Linked DNA regions of Homo sapiens: region 2 is linked to region 1. The links are contacts of gene promoters, found by promoter capture Hi-C in human tissues and cell types (Jung and others, 2019). All regions are on one chromosome and are shown on one strand. The core of a region is centred on a gene start or on the middle of the fragment in contact, and the rest is flanking DNA. Distances in the headings are between cores, read along the strand shown. Region 1 holds the start of GRIA4 (glutamate ionotropic receptor AMPA type subunit 4). Region 2 holds the start of LOC124902813 (a long non-coding RNA gene).

What was found. The method cuts DNA at HindIII sites, captures the fragments that hold promoters and counts their contacts. A contact is called where the count stands out against the background at its distance.
Region 2: a contact is called between a fragment that was not itself captured here and the fragment with the promoter of GRIA4 in region 1, in 1 of the 25 tissues and cell types used here (mesendoderm cells).

What each region holds. Positions count from the first base shown.
Region 1 is chr11:105,606,825-105,613,658 of GRCh38, forward strand. It overlaps GRIA4 (glutamate ionotropic receptor AMPA type subunit 4), which reads left to right and starts at 3,249. Exons shown (of 17, transcript NM_000829.4): 1 at 3,249-3,604; 2 at 4,084-4,261; 3 at 5,452-5,610. The coding sequence starts at 4,174. RefSeq lists a silencer at 4,225-4,425. The HindIII fragment of the contact is 8,669 bases long and covers 1-6,834 here.
Region 2 is chr11:104,959,850-104,966,683 of GRCh38, forward strand. All of the region lies in intron 1 of CASP4 (caspase 4), which reads right to left. It overlaps LOC124902813 (a long non-coding RNA gene), which reads left to right and starts at 594. Exons shown (of 2, transcript XR_007062986.1): 1 at 594-6,834. The HindIII fragment of the contact is 5,410 bases long and covers 1,789-6,834 here.

The sequences.
Region 1 (6,834 bases), core at 1,999-4,498:
AGCTATGACAACTAAATATAATGAGGTGTCCGGAGCTAGATCCTGGCACAGAAAAATACTCTAATGGAAAAACTGATATAACTGTAAATAAAGTCTGGTGTTTAATTAACAGTGACATACCTGTGTCAGTTTCTTATTTTTGACAAAGGTACCAGAGTAATGTAAGATGATAACATTAAGGAAAACTGAAATTGGATGAAGGGTACAGGGGAACTCTCCGTAGTTAATTAGAAACACTTATGTAAATAAAATTATTCCAAATGAAAGGTTTATTATTAAAAATATGGGTTGGTTTCCTAGCATCAGATTTCTGATCTAAAGTACAAATCTGGTCATTTTGCCCCCTTGCTTATAACCGTTCATTGTTTCTCTGTCTCTATGAGACGAAGACAATGCTTCTGAGTGAGATGGTGCCGAGCCATCTCTTGCTTTGCTTTCCAGCCGCACTTCCACTACTTCCCCTCATATAACCTGAAGTCTAGTTTTACCAAGCTTTTAGCAGTGTCTAGAAAGACATAATTTTTCTCCACTTGATAATCCCTACAAACACATAGCAACTCAGTTCAATTTTATTTTTCTCTCTGTGAGTTCTCCCTGAATTCCCTCAAAGTCAGAGTTAGACACTCTATTTTGCTCACATGGCACTCTGCACCTCACTCTATAAGAGCCTTTATCACATTTTGGGGGGCAACTCATTATTGACAAGAGTTGCCAGTTATGTGCCAGAACTGTGTTGAAAGTTTACTTATATCCTGTCAGAAAAGAAATGTTAGGTAATATATCCAAGTCAATACAGCTAAGAAATTGAGGGCCTGTAATCTGAAACCAGTTACTAATTATTAGTCTGAAAGCCTGAGGTCTTTCAGGTAGAACACACTACCTTTCTGAATGCTAGGATTCTTGTAGTTTACTTTTCAGCTCCCAGACCCCTCGTCACTCCTTAAACTCATTAACACAGCAGGTTTTAATAAAGACAGCCCAGTCTCTGAAATCAGACAACTTGAGTCCCATCCTTAGTTATGGTTTCATCACTTACCAAGAATATAATCTTGAGAAAGAATCTAAATCTTTAGTTGGGTTACCTAACAAATGCAAGGATACCTAAAATTTTCTGTAGATCAGGTAATATATGTATGGCTTCAGCACAATACCTTGCACATTAGTGAGCATTCATAAACATTAAGAGTCTTCTAAGAATATCAGGGATTTTGTTTTGTTCAACTTTATATCTCAAACACTTGGAGAATAAATACACATCATAGGTGCTTAATATATAACTATTTGACATATATGTACATCTATATACATGTATATACGTATATAATATATGTATATATGATATTTCTATGTATCATACAGAGAAAATATATTTGATACATACATTTATAAATATATGTGTATATAATACAGATAAAGAGAGTTTAGGTTTAGAAAGTAAAATAGAGGTTTTAACTACTTGGGAAAATAGAAATTAAAAACAACTGGATTACTATTTTGGAAAAATATAGTTGTGTCATCTGTGGTTATATTAGTCCAGGTGTTATCATGACAGTTAAGTGGGGAAAAAAAACTTGTCCTGCATCTATATCAATGATGCTATTACATCATATGAAAACTGAAATCTTTCAATTTTGAGAAGAATTAAAGTTAATAATTGCCTCTGGATCAGGAAGAGCTTCACTAGTTACCCAAGCAAGTGATGAGTTTAACAGTTTGGTGGATTTTGAAATTTTAATTTAACTTGAATTTTATGTGTCATACTCTATTATCCTTTTTCAAGAGAAAACAGAATGCTATTATTCACAGCCTTGTTTTTTAACACAGAAAAATAAAAAAAGGAAAAATGCTTCAAATTTCACTTGACTTGCAAGACTAAAACTTCACAAACTAAAATGACAAATGTATGATTTGTAAAATACAGTTACAATTAGGTTTTTTTTTTCATAACAATCTGTGGTGAAATGTAACGGGAAAGCAGACACTTATTTTAAAGATGCAATTTTAAAAATAAAATTCAAAACTTAGGAAATAGAAAAGCACTCAAGTTTTAGCAGGGATTTTAAAATGTCATCTACAAACTACAAATACAGGTAATCAGTGACACCAAATAAAGTATTTTGAAAGAGTTAAGGTAATGTATATTTCAAAAAGCCGTTACCAGGCTTTCTGTAAGTCCCTTGCAAGAATTCCACTTTAAGCATTGTAGTCTCAAATATTATATCAGGCAAACCTAGGCATTTGCTATATTCTTTTTAAAAATTTAATGGCAGACATCACCCTAGGTTCCCTAACGTTTAAGGAGAACCTCTCCTTCTAATGATTCTCTCACACAGCTTATTGGAACAGGAGATTGTATTTACTAACTAGATCAGGAAATCTCAAACCATACAGAGGAAATCAGAAACCGGTCACTCACGGCTACCACAGTGACTGCTTCTGAGTGTGGTTCAAGCTCAGTCCAGGACAGGCAGATGAAAGGACAATCTTAAAGGTGACTCTGGAGAGCAAGTGAGACTGTAACCCCAAAACTTTCTAGGATAATTCATTTTCACTTCTACCCAGTCAAAACAACTATTGACATCATCACTGAAGTGCTTAAGTCTACCTGGAGGTGGCGTGGAGCAGAGTGAGCATTCCAGAGTCCCAGACAAGAGGAGATGTGCACGAAACACTATCTTCCTGTCAGACACCTGTGCCCACTGCCCCAAGCACTGCCCCTCTGGTCCTTCATCAGCCTTTGCGCTGTGTCCCTCCTGCTCCTGCAATGGGCCACAGCACAGAAGGAAAGAGTCCTCCGGAATGGGTGACTGTATAGAAAGCAATCGAATCTTTAATCACTTTTCCTACTTTACACTTCACGCAGTTCTTATTCCTATCCCTGCTTCATGCCTTTCCAAGAGAATGTTAGAGGCCTCTTTCAATTTTCATTTCTCAGTCTTTTCCCCATCCCGTTCAGTACCCTAAACTTCGTCAGTTATTTAAAATAACCTTTTACCCCCTCCTCCCCTTCCCAGGATGTTTCAACTTCTCTGGCTCTCTTCCCCATCCTTACCTCCTCCAATTCTTTCATCCTGGTCCTGGCCTCTTAAACCCGCCAGGGGCTGCCCTTTGCCTGTCTTTTCTCCTCCCATCCCTCTCTGAACCCTTTCACCTCATCCATTCCCTTGTCAGGCTCTCCAGATTCCCGGGCTGTTTGCTGGTGAGAAATCTTTGCTGCAGCGAGGACCGGAGTCCCCCGCGCGCAGCCCAGTGGCAGAAGAGGGCTAGGCTGAGAGGGAAGCCAGGACTGTAGGAGAGGGAGGCAGCCCGTCCTCCTCACGAACCTGCAAGGATGCGGCAGGGGCCTGGGGGCATGGGGAGGTACTAACCCCCCGGAGCCCCCGATTGGGGCTTGCAGACCTGGCCCGTGGGCGGATTTTCTGCCTAGCGCAGCCGAGAAGCAGAGGTGCCAGGAAAACCAAGAGAGGGGCGCTGGGGGTGCCCATCCCCAGAGTCGGTCCCTCTGCGAACCGAGGAAGAAAAGAGGAGGGAGTCAGCGAGTGGTCAGAAGGGAAAACCTGACACCAGACTGGCTCCGGAGCGTCCGGGAGACTGGGGCGCTCCGGTGAGCACCCAGGGGGTGAAGCCAGCCGAGCGGTGGGCGAGGGGCGTGCGGAGGGAGTGCGCGCTCGAGGAGGGGACGCCAGGAGGGCAGCGATGCTCCGGGCTGGTGCAGGCTTGCTGGGGGATGTCGGCTGATGCGAGCTGGAGAGCGCGTGTGGCGGCCGCGGCGCCAGTGTTTGTGTGTATGTGAGAAAGCAAGGGGCGAGCGCGAGTGCGAGTGAGGCAAAGATAGAGCGCATGTCTCATCCCTGCGAGCAGCCACTAGACGCTCCACCACCATCTTTTGCATGTGCAACATTTGCAGCCGGACAGAAAACCTCTCCCAGGGCTATGGAGACTGCGGGAAAAATCTGGCGGCTCGCGATGGATTGCTAAGGAGAACTAGTCATAATCTTAAACCACCGAAACCTCTTTCCTTTTTTTTCTTTCTTTTCTTTCTTTTCTTTTTTTTTTTTTTTTTTTGGTTGATTTTAATTTTAGCGCCATCGTCTTCAATGCTTCTCTGAACAGCCTTTAGGAAGAGTGCGAGAGAAAGAGAGAGAGCGCGCGCCAGGGAGAGGAGAAAAGAAGATGAGGATTATTTCCAGACAGATTGTCTTGTTATTTTCTGGATTTTGGGGACTCGCCATGGGAGCCTTTCCGAGCAGCGTGCAAATAGGTAAGGTGTGCTCCGATGGGGTGTGCATGTGGCTGGTTGTAGCAGATATCCGAAAGTGAGTTAAATGAGTTGCTGATAAGCAATTCAGGGAAACCTTCAGCAGTTCCCTTCCCCTCTGTTTCCCTCCTCTTCCTTTCTCTCCTTTGCAAAAAGACTTCCTCTTTAGTGCAGGTTCCGTTGGAATACACCCAGGGCAGCCCACCCATGCGTTCTCAGCCCATAGCCCTATTTCCACCTTTACCTATAGTCGCTTAAGTAGGATTGAAATAAGTTGGGGGAAAGTCTTCGGGGAATTTGGTTGTATTTTATATGATATTTATTTCCATCCCTTTCTCTAAAGCATAAAGTGATGTCGAGTTTGTTTAAAAAAGAAAAAAAAAATCCACTTCTTCCCATTCTGGACGCCGCAGCTTTCTTGCTATTACAGAAAGACACTGTTTGAGGAAAAAGACATTTCCACCCGCACGCCCTGCCGTTTCTTGCTACCAGTTAGCAGATTCCAAAGTTAGATCCCTTTCCTGGAAGCTTCTCCCCTTTTATTTTGTTTTCTTCTTGAAGCTTTTGCCCTTATTTCTCTACCTCGACTCTGTTTCCAGGGACACCCTCCATCCTTGGCTTTTCTTGCTATTCTCCTCTACTGTCTTTTAATGGGACGCAGCTATTGAATTTCTTCCAGCTAAGCCCAGCCTCAACACTGCATCATTTCTCGTGGACTGTGCATAAAACGGAGTTAATTAGGCTGAGTCCACGAGCTGGAGGAAAATAAAGTTCATTTCTTCTTTCTGATTTCCCTCTTCCCTGTGTGGCACTATATCCCTTCATTTCCGTATTTTAATGTAAATCTCTTTTCCGCTCATCTGCATGCATCTTAGAGAGAGCTGCCCTGAGGTGGCTGATGTAGCAGTGTGCTGGGAATCAGGGGGAGGGCAAGGGAGAGAAAGGAACATTCACTAAATGGTCTCAGAGGTCATTGTGAGCAAGACACATTAGGACAAGAAAAAGCTGAGCTGCTCTAAAGACTAAATACTAAGCATGCACCTTAGGGACAAAGGGCAGTCTCCCTAGATGTGGCAGGTATAGCTCTTTAATTGTATGTGCTTGTGAATGGCAGTAGATTTGACTGTGCTTGGGGTGGGTATAATGTTGACAAGAGGAAACAGTGAATGTGCTTTTCCTGCTGTTTTTAATAGGTGGTCTCTTCATCCGAAACACAGATCAGGAATACACTGCTTTTCGATTAGCAATTTTTCTTCATAACACCAGCCCCAATGCGTCGGAAGCTCCTTTTAATTTGGTACCTCATGTGGACAACATTGAGACAGCCAACAGTTTTGCTGTAACAAACGCCTGTAAGTAAAACATAAGCTATGAAAAATTAGAAGAGAACTGAAACCAAGCAATGGAGTCCTCTTCCTCTTTGTTATTTAATTTTTTTAGAAAGAATTTCAAGATTCCCACAGTTGCCTGGTTTCAGGACAAATCAGAGTTAAAAACAAGACTTCGTTTCAGGGATATTTAGTTGTTTTTTTTTTCTTTTCCTTAATTTATTTTTCTTTTCTTTCTTCTCCTCCCTCTCTTTGCTTCTTCCTGACTTTCTCTTTTATTCATTATCTGTCTAGATCATTCAAGTTAAATTTTCCTTTAACATTTTAGTGTTATTCCTATCATCCGAATGTCAATTTAGTGAAAATTGTACTCAAGCTAGTTTTTTATTCTTTTCCTTTGGTTTTTCTTATTTGCTTTTCACTTGAGTAAGCATAGGTCTTGCTTTTAAAGAAGAAACATGAAGACTATGGAAGGCTTGCTAATAGTGAGAAAAAGAGGGGAGTGGTGGTGTGGAGGATATATATTTGAGTCGGTTGGTTGACGCTGCAGATGATCTGGTGATGTCACTTGAGGCTGCCCTGCCCTTATATTCTGGGGTGTAAATGTCTCTTACTATCACATAATGCATATATCCTGTGGATATAACTCCATGAATCCTTACCTCGATGCCAAATCACATTAGGCTCCCATCCACCTGAATTCACCAACCAACCCAGCTTTATCTATTATTCCACACAATGAAACTAAACGGGTGACCTCACCTAATGCCGTAAGAAAGCAGTTGTACAATTCCTCCCACTCTCACCAGGACACTGTATAACTTAATGTAAAAAAAAAATACAATCAACTGTGCATGTTAGTTTAAAACACATTGAAACATGATCAGTCAATAGCAGTTGTATTGCTTTTTCCTTCTGGAAGGAAGTGCATGTTTCAAATACCTCCTCACATTTATATGCTAATTTACCACTGTTTTAAATTCATAAATTCAGATAATGACTATAGATTATTTAAGAAGTAGGAATAGTTTCTACATACAATTTTGCATGTTTTCACAGTTAATAAAATGTTCAAGCTGAATTGTAAAGCCTTTTTGTCATATCAAGCTGGGAACATTTTTATTTAAAATTCTTTCAGTACAAGAAAGTGTGCTGAACAAAGAAACAAGTGAAATTGAAAACAGAGTTTTTAAATTTGTCTGGAGGACATCTGTTTCATCAACTTAAATTATTTAATTTGTATGTGTT
Region 2 (6,834 bases), core at 3,244-5,743, 650 kb before region 1:
CACTTCTCTCAATTCTAATTGTTCATTACTTCTATTCGGGCCAACATCCTTTCTTTCTTAAGAAATAAATTCATAAGAACTTTATCAATCTACTCTCCGTCCCTCTATTCTACTCTTTGCAACGAAGAGTGTTCCAATATCTAGATTTGACCATGAAAACTTTCAGCCTATTCTAATCTAGGCCTTCTCATTCACTCATTTTCTGATACTGTTCCCACCTTGCTCATTACATTCAAAACGTTCTGCCTTCATTTAATTTCTGGAAAGATTCTATTTAGGGGTCTCTGTATTTCCAGCCCCTACCTTCTCATTCATTCTTGTTTTCCTACTGCTGTCTGTCTAACCTTCAAGTCTCAGATTAGATGGCACCTTTCTCAGGGAATCAAGTCTCTACTTAGGGATCTGTATAGTTTCAGCACCCCCGCTTCTAATTTCTTCTGGTTTTTGAACTGTTCTCTGTCTATCTGTCTATCTGTCTATCCTTCAAGTATCAGATTAGATGGTATTTTCTTAAGGGAATCCTCTCTGATTCTTCCAGAGGAGACAGCATCAGAGATATATGCTCCTAGGGCACCTTGTATCTCCTTAGAGTAGCATTTTTTTTCCATTTATTTATTTATGTATTTATATATTTTTGTGAGACAGAGTCTCACTCTGTCACCCAGGCTGAAGTGCAGTGGTGCTATCTTGGCTCACTGCAATCTCTGCCTCCCGGATTCAAGCGATTCTCCTGCCTCAGCCTTCTGAGTAGCTAGGACTACAGGTGCACACAACCACGCCTGGCTAATTTTTGTATTTTTAGTAGAGATGGGGATTCACCATGTTGGCCAGGCTGATCTCGAACTCCTGACCTCAGGTGATCCACCCATCTTGGTCTCCCAAATTGCTGCTATTGGATTACAGGCCTGAGCCACCACATCCAGCCTTTTTTTTTATTTTTCCATTTAATTGTGATTCCCAGCCTACTTATCTCTATCCACTGTTAGAATTTATGCTCTGTGAGGACAGGGGCCATGAACTACATCTGCACTATTTTTGGCATTCTTTTTACTAGTTATTTACTGAATATTTACTAATTATTTACTGAATCAGTAGTCAAGTCCATGTAGGAACAAATGAATAAAACTTATGTGTGGCTCAACTCTTAAGGAATATGAAACCACCTTTGCAAAATTATAACTGAGGAAATTACAACAATGAACGAAATCAGACTGGGAAAGCCTTTGTGGCTACCTGCTTGTGGTTTGGTGCCCCCGCTCCAGCGATGGATCCAGAAGGTAGCCCAAGTAGCCGCCTAGTTCTCTTGGACTGGGGGCTGGCTCTGGTACTCTCTCCACTGGCAGGCACTGCCAACCCAATGTGCATGCATTTAATTGCAACGGAGAAATAATCCTGGAGAGATGTCCTCTAACTGTGGCCCTATCACAGGGTTTCCGTCTGTAGCTGCATTGAAGGGTGTCTGGATTGGTGAGTATCCTAGGTGCTGCCAATGCCTCCTTCCTTCTCCTGACTGGTTCTGTGGCCCCATAGTGGGGTGTCTGTCTGTAGCCCCATTGCAGGGTGTTAGGATTGGTGAATCTACTAGGCACTGCTAATGCCTCCTTCCTTCTCTCGACTTGTCTGTAGCTCTATGATGGGGTGTCTGTAGCCCCATTGCAGGGTGTCTGTAGCCCCATTGCAGGGTGTCTGTTTGTAGCTCCACCACGGGGTATCTGTTCGGCTCCACTGGGGTCTTGGTTGGCTCTAACTAGTAGGAAGAGTCTTGGTTCACGAGACTTGTCCTCAATCAGGACAATTTTGAGATTTCTCAGACAGAGAATAGGAGGATAGTTTGGAAGGGATACTCTTGGAGTTCCTGTTTAGGGATCATCTGATTTGGAAGGCCTTCTGTCTGTCTCATCTTCGTGTGTGTTTGTATATGTGGAGGGAATCTCAGAAGGAATTGCTGAAGGAAGTCCAGCAGGCCTAACTCAGAGGACTCTTCTTATTTGGTTACATTCGATGAGCCCTGGAGAAAGTTCAATAGGCCTGTCTCATGGTGACTATCTGCTCTTTGCCTTACCCAGAGACCCCATTGTGAATTACTGTTCTGAGGTCGTCCCTCCCCACCTGGAGTGGATCAAAGACAACAGGGACGAACAGAAAAAAGTCTGAGCTTTGCCAGGTTGATATTGGGTGCTGAACGAGGTGACTAGTGTCTGTTTTGTTATGTGAATTCTGCTGGGATAGAAAATGTTAAATGGTTCCCCATGCAGCTGGTTGGGCAGCATCTTGCATTTTAAGAATCTTGCCTATGTTTCCATAAAACAGAAAATGGTGACTTTTTTCTTGTAAAGTGGCTTGAACCCCACAACTATGGTGAGGTGAGCAGGCTGATCAGAAGCCGTTCCGTTCTTCTGGAAGTTACAGAGAAAAGGCACCCAGAAATCTGGTATGCCAGCAAAAAGTGTAAGAAATTCTTACCAGCTAGGTTTCTGGTCTCTCTCTCTTTCTCCATCTGTGTAAACAGTAAACATCACTATATGTTTCTCTGTAAAGTTTTGATTAATAGAAAAAAGAATTTACAAGACTAGTCTTAGCCTATAGCAAATCTGGTGTATTTTTGCTAAGAATTTGTCTTTCAGTGTTCTGTAATGGAAAGAGGGGTATCACAAGATAGAACATGGGTTTAGGACCCCTATAAGCCTGCTTTTCAAGCCAGCTCAGCAGGCTGGCCAATTATAATGGGTCCCTGAAACCAATACTGTATGAAATTTCTCTGTCTTGTTTGGCCTCCTTAAGAGCTTAATCTTGTGACCATATGTGGATACTTCCTTTTGGTTTATACCATCCAGCCCTAAAAATTTTTCTTGAGCAGTTAAAAGCCTTGGCAAGGTTAAAAGTGGCTTCTCTAGTCTCCTTCTTGGAATAGCAATAGAAACTGCTCAATGCTGTAATTCAGTAGCTAAGACTTTGCCTTTTGACATAGAGGCTCAGGCTCTATTCTTGGCTTCTGGAACAATTTCCTTCTGGTTTGCTATTTGCATAACTTTGCCATTTAATGAGGTTCCCCCACAACCCCATGGATAGCTTCTGATTTCCTCTCTTGAATTTTCCTTTCTCTGGACTACCTTGGGGAAATTCTAAATCTTGTAAAAAGAAACTGCTTACCACACCTTTGAAGCACCTGGGAAGTTACTTTTGATAAAGTTCAAAAGCCAGAAATGTTGGCCGCATGGCTAAAGTTGGGTAATACGAAATTTAAAAGGATTTTGTTAAGAGCACTAAGGTTAAAAGTCAGCTTAATTAAAAGTGAATAAACAAGTTATGGATACATTTAAAAGACCTTTATGTTTTTCTCTTCTTGGATCTCGTTTTTCTGTAAAAGAGGGTTTTTTCTTCTTAGTAAACTGAATTATTTTTCTCCATTTTTTGTCTTGCCACTCTTAATGCACACATAAGAGGCACTAAGATAACTTTTGGTAGCCTGAGACTCCTTGAGAAAAACAGAGGAAGCACCACAGACCCCATTTTGGGAAAAACAAACAACAAGAAACAAACAAAAAACCCTCTGTTTTCTTCATGACAACCAAGGAATTAAAAGTAGATGGATCACTCTCAAAATCAAAGGCTCTGTTCTGTTTTGCATTGTGTTATCTGACAGTTTGAATTTTGGGGATATCAGAAATTACTTTGCATTATGAGATAGCTTTGGTATGTAATAACTAGGTAGGAAATATACTTTAAGGGATGGCTAATAGTATTTTCAGAGGGAAACTTGGCTCTTCGCACACTTGGGTCAGAGAAGCATGCTCTGGGCCACCTGGAAGATACGGAAACATCCCCATGCCTGACTGAGAGATGAGACTTCCATGGGGGATGGGCTGATTTCAAAATGGGTTGATTGGCTTTAGGTTGCCTTGCAATAAAATGCAGGTTAGAAGCACTGCACTCTCTTCTCCAGTAGTATTTCCTTCCTTTTGGGGATCTGGGATCCAGTATAAAATGGCATCCTTCATTTTGGAGATCTGTCTTTGCCTTCAGCTGTGCCTGCTTATTTAGCTTGGAAAAAAAATGCATGCTTTCCTGGCCCTGTTCCTCCAAGGGCTCCACTCTGAAGCCAGTAGTCCAGTTAACAACTGGCAAATAAAAAATCTTACAAGTGCTGAATTTTCTGTCTGTCTGTGTATTTATATAAACTTCTATAATTCTGATAAAATTTACTGTACATTATTAGTAATTATAATTGTTATACAAAATTGTTGGATGCCACAGAAGTAAGCAAAATTCCTAGTCAATTATAGCTTTAATAGTGTCTATAGACTTTTGTCATCCACAGACATTTTGTCTTGCTTTGGTCGTTTTCAAAAGGCAGTTTATAATCAGGTATAGGACTCTGAGTGCAGGTCTCAGATAACTTTAAAAATTGTGCTATTGGAATAGAGGAAAAAAACAAAACTTCCAGGACTCTCATGAAGAGCTGATGTCTTAAATGTCACCAATCCTTCAGTTTTCACAGTCAAGATAACTTATTTCTTTAGAGATATTTGCAACTTTTAACAAGTAGGTAAAATACACTCCTGTGAAAAAATTTTGAAGCATATTTGTTTCTCTCTACCTGATTTCTCCAGAATTTGGAAACTCTTTGTAAGTATTCTCAATTTATGGCAGCATGGTTAATTCCATAAGCACAATAAAAATCTGTTTTCTTTTGTAACATGACACAATTGGAGAAATTGGTTATTTTACCAAGGCTTTGACTGGAATGGCACTCTTCCCTTAAAGAATCGAAGTTGACTTACAGAGCCAATAAAAGCCCCTTGGGGAATCTGGCTTCATACCTTGTCTACACAGAGTCCTTGTACAAGGTTCTTGATCTGTAGTAAGTAAAGAATATCACTTTCTAACAGGTTCATGAGCTCCAAGTTATCTTGGGACCTTGAGAGGAGAGGAATTTACCCAACTCATAGGTATTTAAGGGTACAAATGCATGGCTGGGATTGGCTCTTAAAAAGTCTTATCTGAGATTCCTCATGGAACAGAGTTCCATCAAAGCCAATTTAAACAAAAAACAGCCTAAATAAAAAATAATTATTCTTGTTGCACTTCATGCAAATAATCAGGCCAAGTACAGTAAGACTAAAGCTTATTTTGGTAAACAGATTAGTTCTATTATAATTTACTTTTAATAAAAATAGGGTCTGGAGAGAAAAATTATGCTTCAAAAGAAAACATATAATATACCCATTGTTAGTTTTGTTTGAGTTTTTTCCTACAGTTTGGACTAAATCCTAAATTCTTTGTGGATTAGAAGTCCCCAAATTAATGCTTTCCAATCTTTGCTTTTAAAATTGAGAATTGTACTCCTCATCCTAGGATTTGTTATTTACCTTACAGGAGGCTGTTGGCTTAAATATTATAGCAAAACTACAGAGGAGAGTACTAATGTTTTTGCATTGCAAGCATTGGAAGCCCAGCCAGTCCTGCATGAGTATGCTCAGACAGTTGCAAAGTGGTTACATTCTTCTCACCTTGGGGTTCACTCTAATTTCCACTATGTCTCCTGTCAGCAGGAAGAAGCCAGAGTGATCGACAGCCTTTTCCCATCTTCATAGCCTACACCTTAAGATTAAGCTATTAGAAAACCCAAACAGAGGGATTGAAACTGCCTTTGCAATATTATAACTGAGGTAATTACGACAGTGAAAGAAATAAGACCTAACCAACTCTATCTTGCTTCTATCCCTTAAGCTGTTCTTATTCATTCCTGGGCATAGGCCGAACTGACTTTGGGAAGGAATTCAGTTCATGGTTTGACTGAAACAAAACCGGTAACAGCCTTTTCTCGAAAAGACCCTCTTCTTGCCTGGGGTCCAGTCTCCCTTTGCAGGACTAACAAATTAGCTACAAGACTAAAAATTACAATGTAAGGGACATGCAGCCTCTGGCTCCTAGAATTGGAATGTCCCCATTGTGCTCCCAGGGATAATATCACTTTATAAAATCTAATATCAGCACTTAAGATATTTTTCAGACGCTGCACTCAATGGATCAGCTGACACCACCCAAACCAGTAATCTAACCCAACCAGTTCTGCCATCACACCCAGGAAGAGAACACAGCAAGAAAACCTCACTTTGACACCCTATGATTCCATCTCCCACCTGAGTAATCAGCACTTCCTACTTCCCAAGCCCCTAGCTGCCAAATTATCTTTAAACGTTCTTATTTCTGAATGCTCGGGGAGACTGATTTAAGTAATAATAACACTACCCTCTCCAGAACAGCCGGATCTGCGTGAATTACTCTTACGCCATTGCAATTCCCCTGTCTTGATAAATTGGCTCTGTCTAAGCAGTGGGCAAGGTGAACCCACCTGGTGATTACAAATTCTTAATAGCAAACCAGGTAAGTTTGATTTCATTTAATAGATGATAGTTGCATGTTGGATATTTCAACAGAAGGAAGGCATGTTCATTCCCCTATCCATTCAGGTATATTTAATGAGCATAAATTCTTGAAACTTACTCTGCTGTTATTGGGGGTACCACTTTGGCAGCATGTCTGTACACTTTGAAGTTTGCAGTCAAGTGGAAAAATACATATGCAAATAAGTAAAATGAAAAATATTATAAGAATGTAAATAATTAGCAGAAGCTCAAGAAAAGCATAAGCAAAGTGTGTCTCAGGTACAGCTGTCCAGAGAAGGGAGGGCTTGGCACTGAGACCTGAAGGACTGGTAGGAATTTGTCCCCTGGAAAACTAGGAGCTGGTCTTTTGGCAGAGAGCAGTAAGGAAAAAAGCACAAAGGCTTGAGGGTGTCTCGTGTAACCAGAAAACTGGGAGAGCTGGGCT